Linked DNA regions of Homo sapiens: all the other regions are linked to region 1. Evidence: promoter capture Hi-C in 16 types of primary human blood cells and fetal thymus (Javierre and others, 2016). All regions are on one chromosome and are shown on one strand. Each heading gives the region's core, a stretch centred on a gene start or on the middle of the fragment in contact. The rest is flanking DNA. Distances are from core to core; before and after follow the strand shown. Region 1 holds the start of FEM1B (fem-1 homolog B). Region 2 has its middle 14 kb from the start of RNU6-1. Region 3 has its middle 35 kb from the start of RNU6-1. Region 4 overlaps CORO2B (coronin 2B).

Evidence for each region. The method cuts DNA at HindIII sites, captures the fragments that hold promoters and counts their contacts. A CHiCAGO score of 5 or more calls a contact.
Region 2: a fragment that was not itself captured here is called in contact with the fragment with the promoter of FEM1B in region 1 in 1 of 17 cell types (neutrophils); the score reaches 5.0 in neutrophils.
Region 3: a contact is called between a fragment that was not itself captured here and the fragment with the promoter of FEM1B in region 1, in 1 of 17 cell types (neutrophils). The highest score is 6.7, in neutrophils.
Region 4: a fragment that was not itself captured here is called in contact with the fragment with the promoter of FEM1B in region 1 in 1 of 17 cell types (endothelial precursors); the score reaches 5.5 in endothelial precursors.

The regions. Positions count from the first base shown.
Region 1 is chr15:68,276,277-68,279,599 of GRCh38, forward strand. FEM1B (fem-1 homolog B) reads left to right here and starts at 1,469. Exons shown (of 2, transcript NM_015322.5): 1 at 1,469-2,389. The coding sequence starts at 2,142. RefSeq lists enhancers at 1,465-2,366, 2,109-2,308 and a silencer at 1,749-2,078. The HindIII fragment of the contact is 2,784 bases long and covers 282-3,065 here.
Region 2 is chr15:67,852,780-67,856,102 of GRCh38, forward strand. No RefSeq gene overlaps it. Among named protein-coding and RNA genes, the nearest start is that of RNU6-1, 14 kb to the left of the region's middle. RefSeq lists enhancers at 60-617, 618-1,173, 3,271-3,323. The HindIII fragment of the contact is 281 bases long and covers 1,475-1,755 here.
Region 3 is chr15:67,873,817-67,877,139 of GRCh38, forward strand. No RefSeq gene overlaps it. Among named protein-coding and RNA genes, the nearest start is that of RNU6-1, 35 kb to the left of the region's middle. The HindIII fragment of the contact is 3,151 bases long and covers 1-3,093 here.
Region 4 is chr15:68,665,120-68,668,442 of GRCh38, forward strand. All of the region lies in intron 2 of CORO2B (coronin 2B), which reads left to right. LOC124903514 (a long non-coding RNA gene) reads left to right here. Exons shown (of 2, transcript XR_007064691.1): 2 at 1-539. Among named protein-coding and RNA genes, the nearest start is that of CORO2B, 88 kb to the left of the region's middle. RefSeq lists a silencer at 1,311-1,605. The HindIII fragment of the contact is 1,941 bases long and covers 526-2,466 here.

The sequences.
Region 1 (3,323 bases), core at 219-2,718:
ATCTGCAATAAGTGGGTAAAGCTGAGCTGTAGAATGGAGAGAATTTGAGAAGTGACCCACACCTCCACCAATAGCTGCAATGGAAGTGAGGCCTTTACCTCCTAGAATTGGAATGGTGGGGTTCAAATAAAATAATGTATGTGAACTTGTTGAGCCGAGCCCAGTCCCTTGGAGCCACATAAATGCATTTGTTCTTTCTCTATGGTAAATTTTGTCCTTTGGGGAAGGGAGGAAGAGGGAGGAAGTCACTTTCATATTGAGTTTTTTGAGACTGTCCCAGAAGCTTCATCACCTACCATTCACTCCTACCATCCTAATCCAAGGCCTGTCCCCCTATCTACTCTTGCCTTCCAGAGTTTATTCTCCATACAGCAGCCAGAGTGATCTTTTTAAAAAACACAAATAGCATCTTGTCACTTCCCTCTTTAAAACCCTTCAAATGCCCCCATCACAGAGTAGACTTAAACCCTTTGCTATGGGTTATTAGGCCCTAACGTGTGTTGCATCCTCTGACTTCATCTATCATTCTTACTGTGGCCCACTCTGCTGCAGCCACACTGACCTTTCTGTTTCCGAGCTCACCAGACTGTTCCCTCCTCAGGACTTTTATATTAGCTGTCCCCTTTGCCTAGAATACCGTCTGTTCTTGTCACTTGTCATAGAGGTCTTGTCTGATCACCCAAACTAAATGAGTGCCCCCATCATTCTATTTCATTTGCTTCAGAGCAAATGGTAATGATACCAGTTCAACTGATCTTGTCTATCATTTGTTGACTTATTTGTTCCATTACTGAATCCCTAGTGCTAAGCAGAGCCTGGCACGTAGTCGACCTCTAATATTCATTGGATAAACGATCGTTTCAAATCCTAACAACAATCTTGTGATGTCTGTGAGAAAACGGAGGTTCTGCCGGCTCAGGATGAGATTCCTGCTCTGTCTGAACGCGGGACTCGCTTTCCTTCCCAGGATACCTCGCTCCTTCCACCGCGAGCGCAGCTCCCCTTCGCTCCCATCTTTCTCTCACACTTAACCCCTTTCTCCGGGAAAGTCAGGCCGTACTTCCAGTCCCTTCTCAGAGCCTGGTGTTGTGGCTCTCAAGCCCTCCCACATTTCGGGAACTCAGAAACGCCGCCCTTTTCCTGAAATGGACCCTCCGAGTACGCGCAACCCCTTCCCTAACCCCGGCTCAGGGGCAGAAGCAGGACCCGCACCGTCTATAGTAAAATAGGGTGGTCTCCTTAGCCCATCAGCTTAGCGCCCTCACTCCGCCCCCACTCCCTGGCTGGAGACCCTCAGGGCCGTTTAGGGGCCAGGAGGAGGTTCCAGGAGTCAAGGACATTGAGGACATCCAGGCCCAAACGGGATGGGCCAACTACGCGCAGCAGAACCTTTCTCTACCGGGCCCGCGTGTGCCCGCCGGTCGGCTTAGGCGGAGACACCCCACTTAGCGTCCCTCCCGCTCCCGCCCTCTCCTCCCGGCCCTGTCTGCGAAAGCTCGTCTTCCTCCCCGCCCAAGTTCCGGCGCCGCTCTTGCGGGAGCGTTCCGCATCGCCCCGGGGGCCCCTACGCGAGGATCTCCGGGGCCGTTGGCAGCGCCTGGCACTTCTGAGCTCGGCGGACGAGAGCCTGCAGGTTTCCTCCAGTCAGGGACGGCGAAGGGCGGAAAGCGCAGGAGGAGGCAGTGTTAGGCCTTAGGCCGGGTGGGCCGGGTCAGGAGAGACGCGCCCATCTTTCGCCATCCGGGGTGCGCGAGGTCCTCTCGGGACCCGGCCGGCGACCCGTAGCTCGGGCACGCGCCTGTCGCATCCCGCAGGAAGGAGGGGTCCGGCCTGAGGCCCGGGGCGGCGTCCGCCATGGAGATCCCCTCGGTCCAGGGCCGGCGCCTGGGACCTGGCGGGCGGCCCTGACCGCCTTCCTCCCTGCGCGGGCTGGGTCGCGGACGTGCCCTTCGCGGCACTCGGCCTCCTCTGCGTCTCCGCCTTCCCTGGGCCGCACTGCTGCCTGGGCGCGGCGGCGGCGACGGCGCCCTGTTGAATGGGCTGTGAGGGCCCAGGTTTAAAGCGCTGGCGAACGCGGCCTCCGGGGGCGCACGGCAGCTGCAGCGGTGGCGACCAAACGGGTGTTGGAGTTGGCGGCGGCCATGGAGGGCCTGGCTGGCTATGTATACAAGGCGGCCAGCGAGGGCAAGGTGCTGACTCTGGCCGCCTTGCTTCTCAACCGGTCTGAAAGCGACATCCGCTATCTGCTTGGCTATGTCAGCCAGCAGGGAGGGCAGCGCTCCACGCCCCTCATCATCGCAGCCCGCAATGGACACGCAAAGGTGGTACGCTTGCTCTTAGAACATTACCGGGTGCAGACTCAGCAGACTGGCACCGTCCGCTTCGACGGGTAGGTACATCCCAAGCCAGCCTCTCTCCGACGCGCGCGGACTCGTTAATTCACGGGCCCTCCCCTCCCTCACCCTCTCTTACCCTCTCTTCATGTAGGTACTCACTTCTCCCCTTTTTGTACCACCTCCTGCCCCACTAATGCCCACTTCATCTTCCAGGGCTAATAATCCATCCCATGTTTTGCTGCCCGTCCTCATCAGCCCCTACCCCTCATTCCCTCTGTGGGAAGATAACCACACCCTCGGCCTTGAAATCTAATAGTCGTCTTCTCTACTAGATAGTCTGTGAACAAGCCATTTGGAGGAGGTGGCTGCCTTTCCAGGTTTTACTTTTAGTGGAACTGGTGATGTAACTGATCAGAAATTAAGGAGGTCAGCGGTTAACATTGAAGAACTCCGAAAGAGTTATTTGGGCATCCATTTTTACTCCCTTCAAGTGAGTGGTTCCGTAAAACCTTCAGTGGGCTGCTGGGCTTTAATGTCAAAATAAGCACCTAGAACCAGCAGCAGCTGCAGCATCATGAGGGATTGTCACGCAGCCAGACATCTCAAGACATGATTCTGATTCCTCCACGTTGCTCGGTGTAGATATATTGGCTACTAAGATGGCATTGGACCTGATGTGGGAGATGATGCCATTCTTAAATTACATCTTATCCCGTGATGTTGTGGGGAAGCTTGATCATTTACTGTTAGTTGAGGTGGGAAGTTTAAAAATGCACATTGTTATGCCTAAGATTTGCCCTTTGAGTTTAATTGTACGAATTTTTGGGTATTTGACCAGAATTGTCAGGTTTGACATTATCCTCTTTTCTATGCTGGAGGATTATAACACGTTTTACAGATTACAACTGTATAACGATTTTGCTACATATGTTTTGGTTGACTTGTGGTAGTACATAAGCTATTTTAGCATTTTTTTTTTCTTTTGAA
Region 2 (3,323 bases), core at 365-2,864, 420 kb before region 1:
CCTGGGTGACCCAGGCTCCAAGTGCTTACAGCACTTTGGGTGCATGGACTGTTGCCTCCATTGATAATTTACTGTTGTGGGCTTAGAGTGAGGCCCTGAAAACCCGCCATAAAGGTTTCTCTCACTCCTTCACCCTCATTAATTGCTCCCGCCTCCCTGTTCTTCCCACTCAGATGCCTATATTTAGTGCTGATTTTCTTCTGCCTTGTTTAGAGTTAGTTGTTTACTTGTTTGCTTCCCCTGCCACCTCCCAGACCATGAACCCAGCTGTGAGGGGCCAGACTTTATTCATTGCTGTACTCCCAGTGAAGTGGCACCATTCGCCTGGGGGGATACCTGAGGTTCATTGTCTCATGCCAGGGAAATCAAGGACATGGACACACAAGGAGTGAGGTTGAGAGCGGAGGTTTAATAGAAGGAGGCCAGGCATGGTGGCTCACACTTGTAATCCTAGCACTTTGGGAAGCCAAGGTGGGTGGATCACGAAGTCAAAAAGATCGAAACCATCCTGGCCAACATGATGAAATCCCGTCTCTACTAAAAATACAAAAATTAGCTGGGTGTGGTGGTGCACGACTGTAGTGCCAGCTACAGGCTGAGGCAGGAGAATCACTTGAACACGGGAGGTGGAGGTTGTAGTGAGCTGAGATCACACGACTGCACTTCAGTCTGGTGACAAAGTGAGACTCCATCTCAAAAAAAAAAAAAAAAAAAGGCGAAAGAAAGAGAAAACCTTTCTCCTACAAGGAGAGGGGTCCTGAGCAGGTTTCCAGTCCACAGTGAAATGCAGGGTTTTATAGATGAGCTTGAGAAGGTAGCGTCTGATTTACATAGAGCACGAAAGAGTGCTTGGACCAGGTGTGCCATTTGCATAAGGCATGAAAAAGTGGTTAGGACTAGGTATGCTATTTGCATAGTGTGTAAAAGTCTGGCCACCCCCACCCTAATCTTTTATTATGCAGATGAGCTTTCTACCTGGCTGGCACCATGTTGCCTGTTCCTTTACTGTACACATGGTGACAAAAGGGAAGTTGAAGCCTCCATATTGAACATACCTGGCCCTCAGGTAACCCTTTTCTATTGGCACAGGTGCTGGCATTCGCCCGTGCAAGCTTCCAGCTTGCTTATCTGTTTGCAGCTCGATTTTTCAGGCTGCTCTTTGTTAGAAAAGCAATGATTTTGGGCTGCTTTTTGTTGAAAGGGAATTTCTGCCGAGGACTCTTACCCTCACGATCTGCCTGAATAATTTCTTTCTGTCTCCTGTATCACCAGCACCTGGCACAGCACCTGAATTTTAAATCTTATTTATTTATTTATTTATTTATAGAGACAAGTTCTTGCTCTGTCGCCTAGGCGACACTATAACATCAACCTCCTGGCCTCAAGTGATCCTCCCACTTTGGCCTCCCAAAGTGTTGGGATTATAGGTGTGAGCCACCACACCTGGCCTTAATAGACACATTTTTTTCTTTAAAGCTTCTGTTACAAAGGACAGATAAGAGGATTTCAAGAGTTAAGATGACCACAGATCAAACTTCCTTGATGTGCCATCTTCCAACTTAAATTCGAAAGCTACTTGAGACACAGAAAAAGACAAAAACTGAGAACCATTCAGAAAACTTAGTGGTCAGTTGTTGGCCAGAGTCCAAGATGGAAATTTCCCTAATAACCTGCCACTGGGGCTGGGGGAAGTCACATGGTAGGTGGCCTGTGCATACTTTGCCCTCTAAAGTGGCCCAGAACCTGCAGACAGGAAGCTTGCAGGGAGAAGCTTAGGCCCTCATTCACTGTACAGGGCTGCACTCACCAGCAAATGGGCAGCACACTCCTAACACTCAAGTATGGTTTTCTGAGGCAGTCACTTCTGTCCACCCTCACCCCTTCCGTTAGACTGTCTCTGCCTGTGTCTGTGGGGACACTGTGGCACTCAGTACCTCTGAGCAGGGAGCAGGGCAGGACTGATGAGGAGGTGGCCTAAAAGGCACGCTCGCCTAATGCAGGGACCCTACAGATGGAAAGAGTGCGGTTTTATTTCAAAATATCTGATACACAGTAATATAGATACCTTGTAGTACTTAAATCGTATTAACCCAGTTTGAAGGTCTTTGGCTTTTAGTATCATGCGTTTATTTTTATGTTGGCATGTTTGGTTTTATTTCTTTTATTTTGGTTTATGCCTTCTCTTTTTCATGTTTGTTTTTGTTTTTGCCTTCTATGATAAGCAAAATTGCATGATGATGTATTTTTTATTTATTTATTTTTTTTTTGAGATGGAGTCTAGCTCTGTTGCTCAGGCTGGAGTGCAGTAGCACAATCTCGGCTCACTGCAACCTCCACCTCCCGGGTTCAAGCGATTCTCCTGCCTTAGCCTCCCAAGTAGCTGGGATTACAGGCGCCCACCACCATGCCCAGCTAATTTTTGTATTTTTAGTAGAGACAGGGTTTCACTGTGTTGGCCAGGGTGGTCTCGAACTCCTGACCTGATGATCCGCCCACCTCGGCCTCCCAAAGTGCTGGGATTACAAGCGTGAGCCACCGCGCCTGGCCCTTTTTTTTTTTTTTTTTTAAGACAGAATCTCGCTATGTTGCCCAGGCTGGAGTGCAGTGGCGCGATCTCAGCTCACTGCAACCTCCGCCTCCTGGATTCAAGTGATTCTCCTGCCTCAGCCTCCTAAGTAGCTGGGATTACAGGCGCCTGCCACCGCGCCCTGCAATTTTTGTATTTTTAGTAGAGACAGGGTTTCACCATCTTGGCCAGGCTGGTCTTGAACTCCTGACCTTGTGATCCACCTGCCTCAGCCTCCCAAAGTGCTGGGATTACAGGCATGAGCCACCGTGCCCAGCCGATGATGTATTTTTTTAGAGTCATGGTCTCGCTATGTTGCCAGGCTGGACTTGAACTCCTGGTCTCAAATGATTCTCCAGTCTCAGCTTCCTGAGTAGCTAGGAGTACAGGTGCACCATTGTACCTGGCTGATGATTTGTTTTTATCTTCTGTAATTTGAAAAGTATATAGCTATATAGCCTATTGTTTTAATTCTGCCAACACCTTGAAGATTTTTAAAAACTTTTTTGAACCCATGTAGTATAGTTTGGACTTCCCCTCCAAATCTCATGTTGAGATGTAATCCCCAATGTTGGAGGTGGGGTCTGGTGGGAGGTGTTTGAGTCATGGGGGTAAATCCCTTGATGCTTTCCCGGAGATAGTGAGTTCTCATGAGATCTGGTTGTTGTAAAGTGTGGCACCTCCCCCACGCTCTCTCTTGCTCGTGCTCTGCCATGTGAAACAGCAGCTCTCCCTTTGCCATCTCCCAGGAGTAAAA
Region 3 (3,323 bases), core at 268-2,767, 400 kb before region 1:
CGGCTTCCCCCAGCACCCCATCACCTGAAGAATTTGCAGCAAGTTTCAAGGTATGGCACTTCTCTGTGGACAACACCCCCTAGTACCCTAAAGGGAAGATTCCACTATTACACTGTGAGCCACTTCAGTGTCTTCTCCACCACCCAGGATGCCATGCTGTGCTCTCCCCAGCAGGGTCTGGAGTTCTTCCTTGGACACTCTATCCTGCTGGCAGCGGCTGTTCCCTGTATTTGCCATTCTTGCATTCATCAGAGTTCTCTATAACTCTTATGAGTCGATTTCCCATTACTCAAATCTCCTGTTATTTCTTTATGTTAAACTTTACCTGTTTTCCATTTCTTGATTGGACAGTGATACCAAATTCTATCCAGAATATATACAGAAACCTCCCAACTCAATAATAAATAAAAACACTGACTTAAAATTGAACAAAAGATTTAGAGCTGTTTACCAAATAAGATATAAAACAAACACTAACTTAAAAATAAGATATAAAACAAAAGATTTAAAGCTACTTCGCCAAATAAGATATAAGCACATAAAAAGATTCTCAACATAATTAGTCAATAGAGAATTGCATATTAAAACCACAATGAGATACCATTAACATCACAAAATGCTCAAATTTTAAAATCTTGACAATACAAGCTGAGGATGTAGAGCAACTGAAGCTCTTATTTCTTTTTCTTTTTACCTTTCCTTTTTTCTTCCCTGGGATGGATCCTGAGCAACTAGAACACTTATATATTGCTGATGGAAATGCAAAATGGGACATTGGTTTGGCAATTTCCGATAAAGTTAAATATATACTGATGTATATATCTCATTGTTTTAATATGCAATTCCTTAATGACAAATAATGTTGAGCATTTTGTTGTTGTTGTTGTTGTTGCTGTTTGACAGAGTCTTGCTCTGTTGCCCAGGTTAGTGCACTGGTGCAATCACAGCTCACTGCAGCCTCGATCTCCCAGGCTCAAGTGATCCTCCTGCCTCAGCCTCTCAAGTAACTGGGACTACAAGAGTTTGCTACCACACCAGCTAATTCTTAACTTTTTTGTAGAGACGGGGACTCGCTCTGTTGCCCAGGTGGGTCTCAAACTCCTGGGCTCAAGTGATCCTCCTCGGCCTCCCAAAGTGCTGAGATTACAGACGTGAGCCAACCCCACCCAGACATTTTTAAATGCTTATTTGCCATCTGTTTATCTTATTTGTTGAGATATCTGTTCAGATGATCCATTTTAAAATTGGTTTCTTTGTTTTTGTTGAGTTTTAAGAGTTCATTGTATGTTTTGGATACAAGTACTTTATCAGATACATGTTTTATAAATAATTTCTCTGGTCTGTGACTTTTTCATTCTCTTAACAGTGTCTTGTGCAGAGCAGAAGTTATTAATTTTAATAAAGTTTGACATCAATTTTTCTTTCATGAATCATGCTTTTGGTGTTGTATCTGAAAATTCATAGCCAAATCCAAAGTCATCTAGTCTTTCTCCTTTCTTCTTCTAGAAGTTTTATAGCTCTGCATTTTATATTAAGGCCTATGACCCATTTTGAATTAATTTTTGTGAAAGGTCTAAAGTTTGTTTCTGGATCCTTTTTTTTTTTTTTTTTTTTTTTTGCATATGGTGATTCCAGAGCAATTTGTTGAAAAGATTAACCTTTTCCTATTGAATTGCCTTTGCTCCTTTGTCAAAGATTGGTTGGCTATTACTGAATGTAAATTATACCTTAATAAATTAACATAAGAAATACATATTTTCCAAAAATACAAAAACATTTACTGTAAACATAGTAAAGTGGTTGCCAAGGTATATGAGAGAGTGTGTAATATGAATATAAAAGAGAATGGGCTGGGCTCACGCCTGTAATCTCAGTACTTTGGGAGGCCGAGGCGTCGAATCACCTGAGGTCAGGAGTTCGAGACTATCCTGGCCAACATGGTGAAATCCTGTCTCTACTAAAAATACAAAAATTAGCTGGGCATGGTGGCACATGCCTGTAGTCCCAGCTACTCGGGAGGCTGAGGCAGGAGAATCGCTTGAACCCAGGAGGCAGAGTTTGCAGAGAGCTGAGATCACACCACTTCACTCCAGCCTGGGTGACAGAATGAGACTCCATCTCAAAAAAAAAAAAAAAAAAGAATGAATACATGGATGGAAACAAGTGAGGGGCCTTGCACGCAATTATAATTTTTTTTTTTTTTTTTTTTTTTGAGACGGAGTCTCGCTCGTCACCCAGGCTGGAGTGCAGTGGCGCAATCTCGGTTCACTGCAAGCTCTGCCTCCCAGATTCACGCCATTCTCCTGCCTCAGCCTTCCAAGTAGCTGGGACTACAGGCGCCCGCCACCACGCGTGGCTAATTTTTTGTATTTTTAGTAGAGACGGGGTTTCACTGTGTTAGCCAGGATGATCTCGATCTCCTGACCTCACCTCATGATCTGCCCGCCTCGGCCTCCCAAAGTGCTGGGATTACAGGCGTGAGCCACTGCGCCCGGCCGTCTTTATTCTTAATCTAATCGGGCAACATGTAACCTAACGAAAATATCAGTGTTCCTCTAGGATACATATTTCTTTGTAGCTGTACCTTAGCAATCCATCTCCATGTGGGATAGTATAATTTTTTGTTTCTTTGCTTGTTTTGCTTGGGAGCAGTATGGTAAACATCTTGGACTTAGAGCAGAATAAATATGTAATTTATCACACATACTGTTACTCAGAAGTCCAGATTTGGTCTTCTTTAGTGTCCATTTTGAATTGCAGCTGATTCTATTACTAGTTTTATTAGAATTTGTTGATGATGTGCTGATTTTCTTTTGTTTATCGGCCCTTTTCACCCCAGCAACTTACATGGTGAATGACATTCATACACAAGGCACATTCTCCTGGCCATAACCATTTTTTTGTGGAATATTAAACATTTTATGGAGAAGTAAGGTGAATAGCCCCTCAGATTTTTTTTGGCATGAGATTTATCAAAGCATTTTATAAACATATTAGTGGTGTAAAATCAGCCCTTTAAAGAACTTTTAAAAGCTCTGTCATTTTATAAGAAAAAGTACACAAATATAACCAATCTAATTTTTTAAAACATAAAGCTTTATTTAAATTAAAATTTTTTAAACAAGTTTAACATTTTTCCATGTCTTTCTAATACAATAGATAACATCAGGAAAGGAACAAGTATGCACTGTTGCAGAATAAACATGAATTAATCTTATTTTACTATTTAAAACGATAACAGAATTTATGTATATATATCAATATGACTATGATTATGAGAAATAGCACTTAACCATCAGTTTCTCTCCTTTTGATTTGGTAAT
Region 4 (3,323 bases), core at 246-2,745, 390 kb after region 1:
ATATTTAAATCTTTGGTGCATTTTGAACTTATCTTGGTGTAAAGAATGAGGTATAGATTAACTTTTTTTCCCCCAGGTATCTATCCAGTTGAAATAATTCCAGGTAATGAGTAATCCTTTCTTTCCCCTACTGATTTGAGATTCAGGCTTTGCTGCATTCTACATTTCTGAATGTATTTGGGTTTATTTTACAGACTGTCCATTATTTTCTACTTAATAGTCTTGTTATTCATGTACCAGTACCACAATGCTGTGTTACTAAGACTTCATAATATGTTTTAATATCAACAGGGATAGTCACCACTCATTGTGGTCTTTTCTCAAACGTAGTTGGCTCTTCTAGCTTATATATTTTAATATATAATTTTAGGATCTGCTTATATAGATAGAAAATATTGATATTTTATTGGGATTATGTTAAATTGATAAATTAAAGAGAATGTCAACCTTATGATGTTGAGTCTAAATATCCATGATCATAGTTTACTTTTTGTAGTCCTTTGTGTCCTTTTGTGGTGTATTAAAAGCTTCTTCACATAGCTCTTATTCATTTCTTGTTACACGTATTTACCTTTTTTATTGTATTATATATCCTTTTAAAATTATATTTGCTAATTGATGATTGTATACTAGAAAGCCATAAGTTTCTGTATGTTAATATTTTGCCATGTTACTAAATTCACAAATAGCTTATACTAATTTTCAGTGGTTTCTCTTGAGGTTTCTAGGGATACTATTTTATCATTTGCAAGTAGTGATAATTCTCCTCTTCATTTATAGCTTTTATACCTCTGGTATATCTTTCTTTTTTTAATTGCATTGGCAGGTCCTACAGGAAAATGTTAAATCATAGCAACCTCTTGTTCCTAACTTTGATGGCAATGCATCAGGTATTTACCTTTTACATATTTTGGGTTGAGAAATATTTTCCCCCCAGCATTTTATTATTAAACTTTCAAACATACTGCAAAGTTTAAATCATTTAGCAGTGAACACCACCTAGATTAATGGTATTAACAGCTTGCTGTACTTCTCAAAGCTGAGTGTCCTATTTGTTTGAGGTAGAGAAGAGGCTCGAACAGATAATTCTTTGGGAACATTCTGGGTAGCGGACATAAAACCTGGCACATGGCAAGTCAACAGATGATGCTCAGATATGCAAATACTGAAAGTGAGGCCCCAGGCAGCTAGTTCCCTTTCCAAGGTGTCACGAGGTGTCAGAAGTAGGGAAGAGCCCAGATTTAGGACATAAGGTGGGTAGGGTGATTCTCAGATGAGAGGAGGCAAAGGATGAAGGCCTCCCCCAGTCCCCAGTGTTCTGAACTCCACAGGACCCAGGGAGTGGGTGAGTGGCCTTCCAGGACACCATTCTTTCCTGACAGCTGGCGGGAATTTCCTTTCTCTTTCTTTCTGTCTACTACTCCTTCCCTGCTGGCTCCTCCTGGCAGAGCCCCAGACAAAGAAAGAGAAGTGGCCTGAGCAGGTGCTTCCCTCCTCCCCTGAATGAGCTCTTCCTGGAGAGCGAGGGTGGAGAAAGCAGGGCGGCTGTGGGCACTGGGGGTTGGGGTGTTGTGTTGGGGGATGGGCAGGGAAGGGGCCAAGGGAGTTTTGTGCCTCTCTAAGCCCATGTGCTGGACAGGGCCTTGATGTTGTCCTTTCTTATCTACACTATTGCAATCACTGCACTGAGTCCCCAAAAATGATAAAAATACACGGTTTTGTAGTCAGGCAGATTTGGGTTCAGCGAGATCAGCGTGTTCAGGGTGGTATGGCCGTAGACCAGCCAAATCTAGGCATTGCCAGAAACCTGCCGCATGCCCTTGGGTGAGATTTGGCTCTGGGCTCCTTCCTGGGCAGTGAGAGGATCTGTGGCTCAGCTGCAGCACAGGTGAGGAGCAAAGAAGACCCTCGACAAACAGGCCCTAGGCTTCCCTCTCCCCAGGCTCCCCGCTCCTGATCTCCCTTCACTCTCATGCTCCCCCACCCCTACTCTAAAAACCCCTAAGGCCTCCCTTTCTGGATGAAGTCCTGCCCCACCCTGGCTCCATGGCTTGGCCCACTCTGCCCCTTCCTGACTCACCTGCCCTCACCAGACCTTGAGCCAGCCCCGGTCTCTTCTACCTGCCTGCCCTTCTTCATGCTCCTCTCTGCACAGCTCAGGGCACCGCCTCCAGGAAGCCACCTGGAGCCATCCTGCTTCTTCCTCTGCTTTGCCAACAGACTCTCCGCTTCCTGCCATGTCCTTGCCATGTTTGAGGCAGGGGTATCGTGGTCTGTTTTCACACCTGTTCCTGCTTCTAGGCGATGGGCTCCTTGAGGCTGGGAAACACACCCATTCGTTTTTCCATTCCCAACAGCCAGAGTTCAGCCCAAATACTGGACAGGGATCTTTTCGGACAGAGAAATCTTTTGAGGCCCAGGGTGCAGATGAGTCTTGGCCAAAGCCCCACATCTGCCTGATGGCAAAGCTTTGGATTTAAAACCCTGCGTGAGGAGTGGGACGGGTGAGGCCCTGTGGATAAGCCAGGTTTGCACTGGGCCTCTCTATTCACTACCTCCCCCTTCTCAGCCTCAGTTTCCCCATCTGTGAGATGGGAGAGTGCACTGAAGATGGGCGGGGGGATGTGGAGGAATGCTGAAAGAGCTAGTTCTATGTTTTAGTGGAGGGAGTTGCTGGAAAGGAAAGAGACTTCAGACCAGTTACTTCCATCTCTGGAAATAGAATATGGGGCAGTGAAGACCATGGGCTTCGGGACCTGTAGTCCTGACCCAGCCATTTGCTAGATGAGTTATTACTCCCGAAAGCCTTGGATTTCTTATTTGTAAACGAGAGATAATAAATCCCACCTGGCAGGGTTGTCATGATGACAGTAATCACCCACACCTGTTGAACACGTACAACGGGCCAGGGACTGTTCTAAGCTCTTGAGACGCCTGGTGCCACTGAATACTCAGCAACCTTGCAGATGAGGAAACAGGTATAGCTTATACAAAGTCGCACAGCTGGGAAGTGCTGGAACTGGAATAAAATAGAGTGATGCTGGCTAAGAGTTTAGCACCATGCCTGACACACAGTGAGCCTCGGTCAGCGAGAGGGCCTAGGTCATCTGCCCCACAACGTGTTCACACTTGCAACCTGCAGGCATGGCCCAGGGCTGGGGAGGGGGGCGCTACAGGGGATCCAAGAACCTTCTGGATCATGCAGACAACACAGACAAGGTCCCTGTTCTCAGGAGTTGTGTGAGCCAGTCAGGAGACAAACAATGAACAAGGGCGCAAACAGTCGTTAAGATTACATCAGACAGTGATGGGTGCTGTGAAGA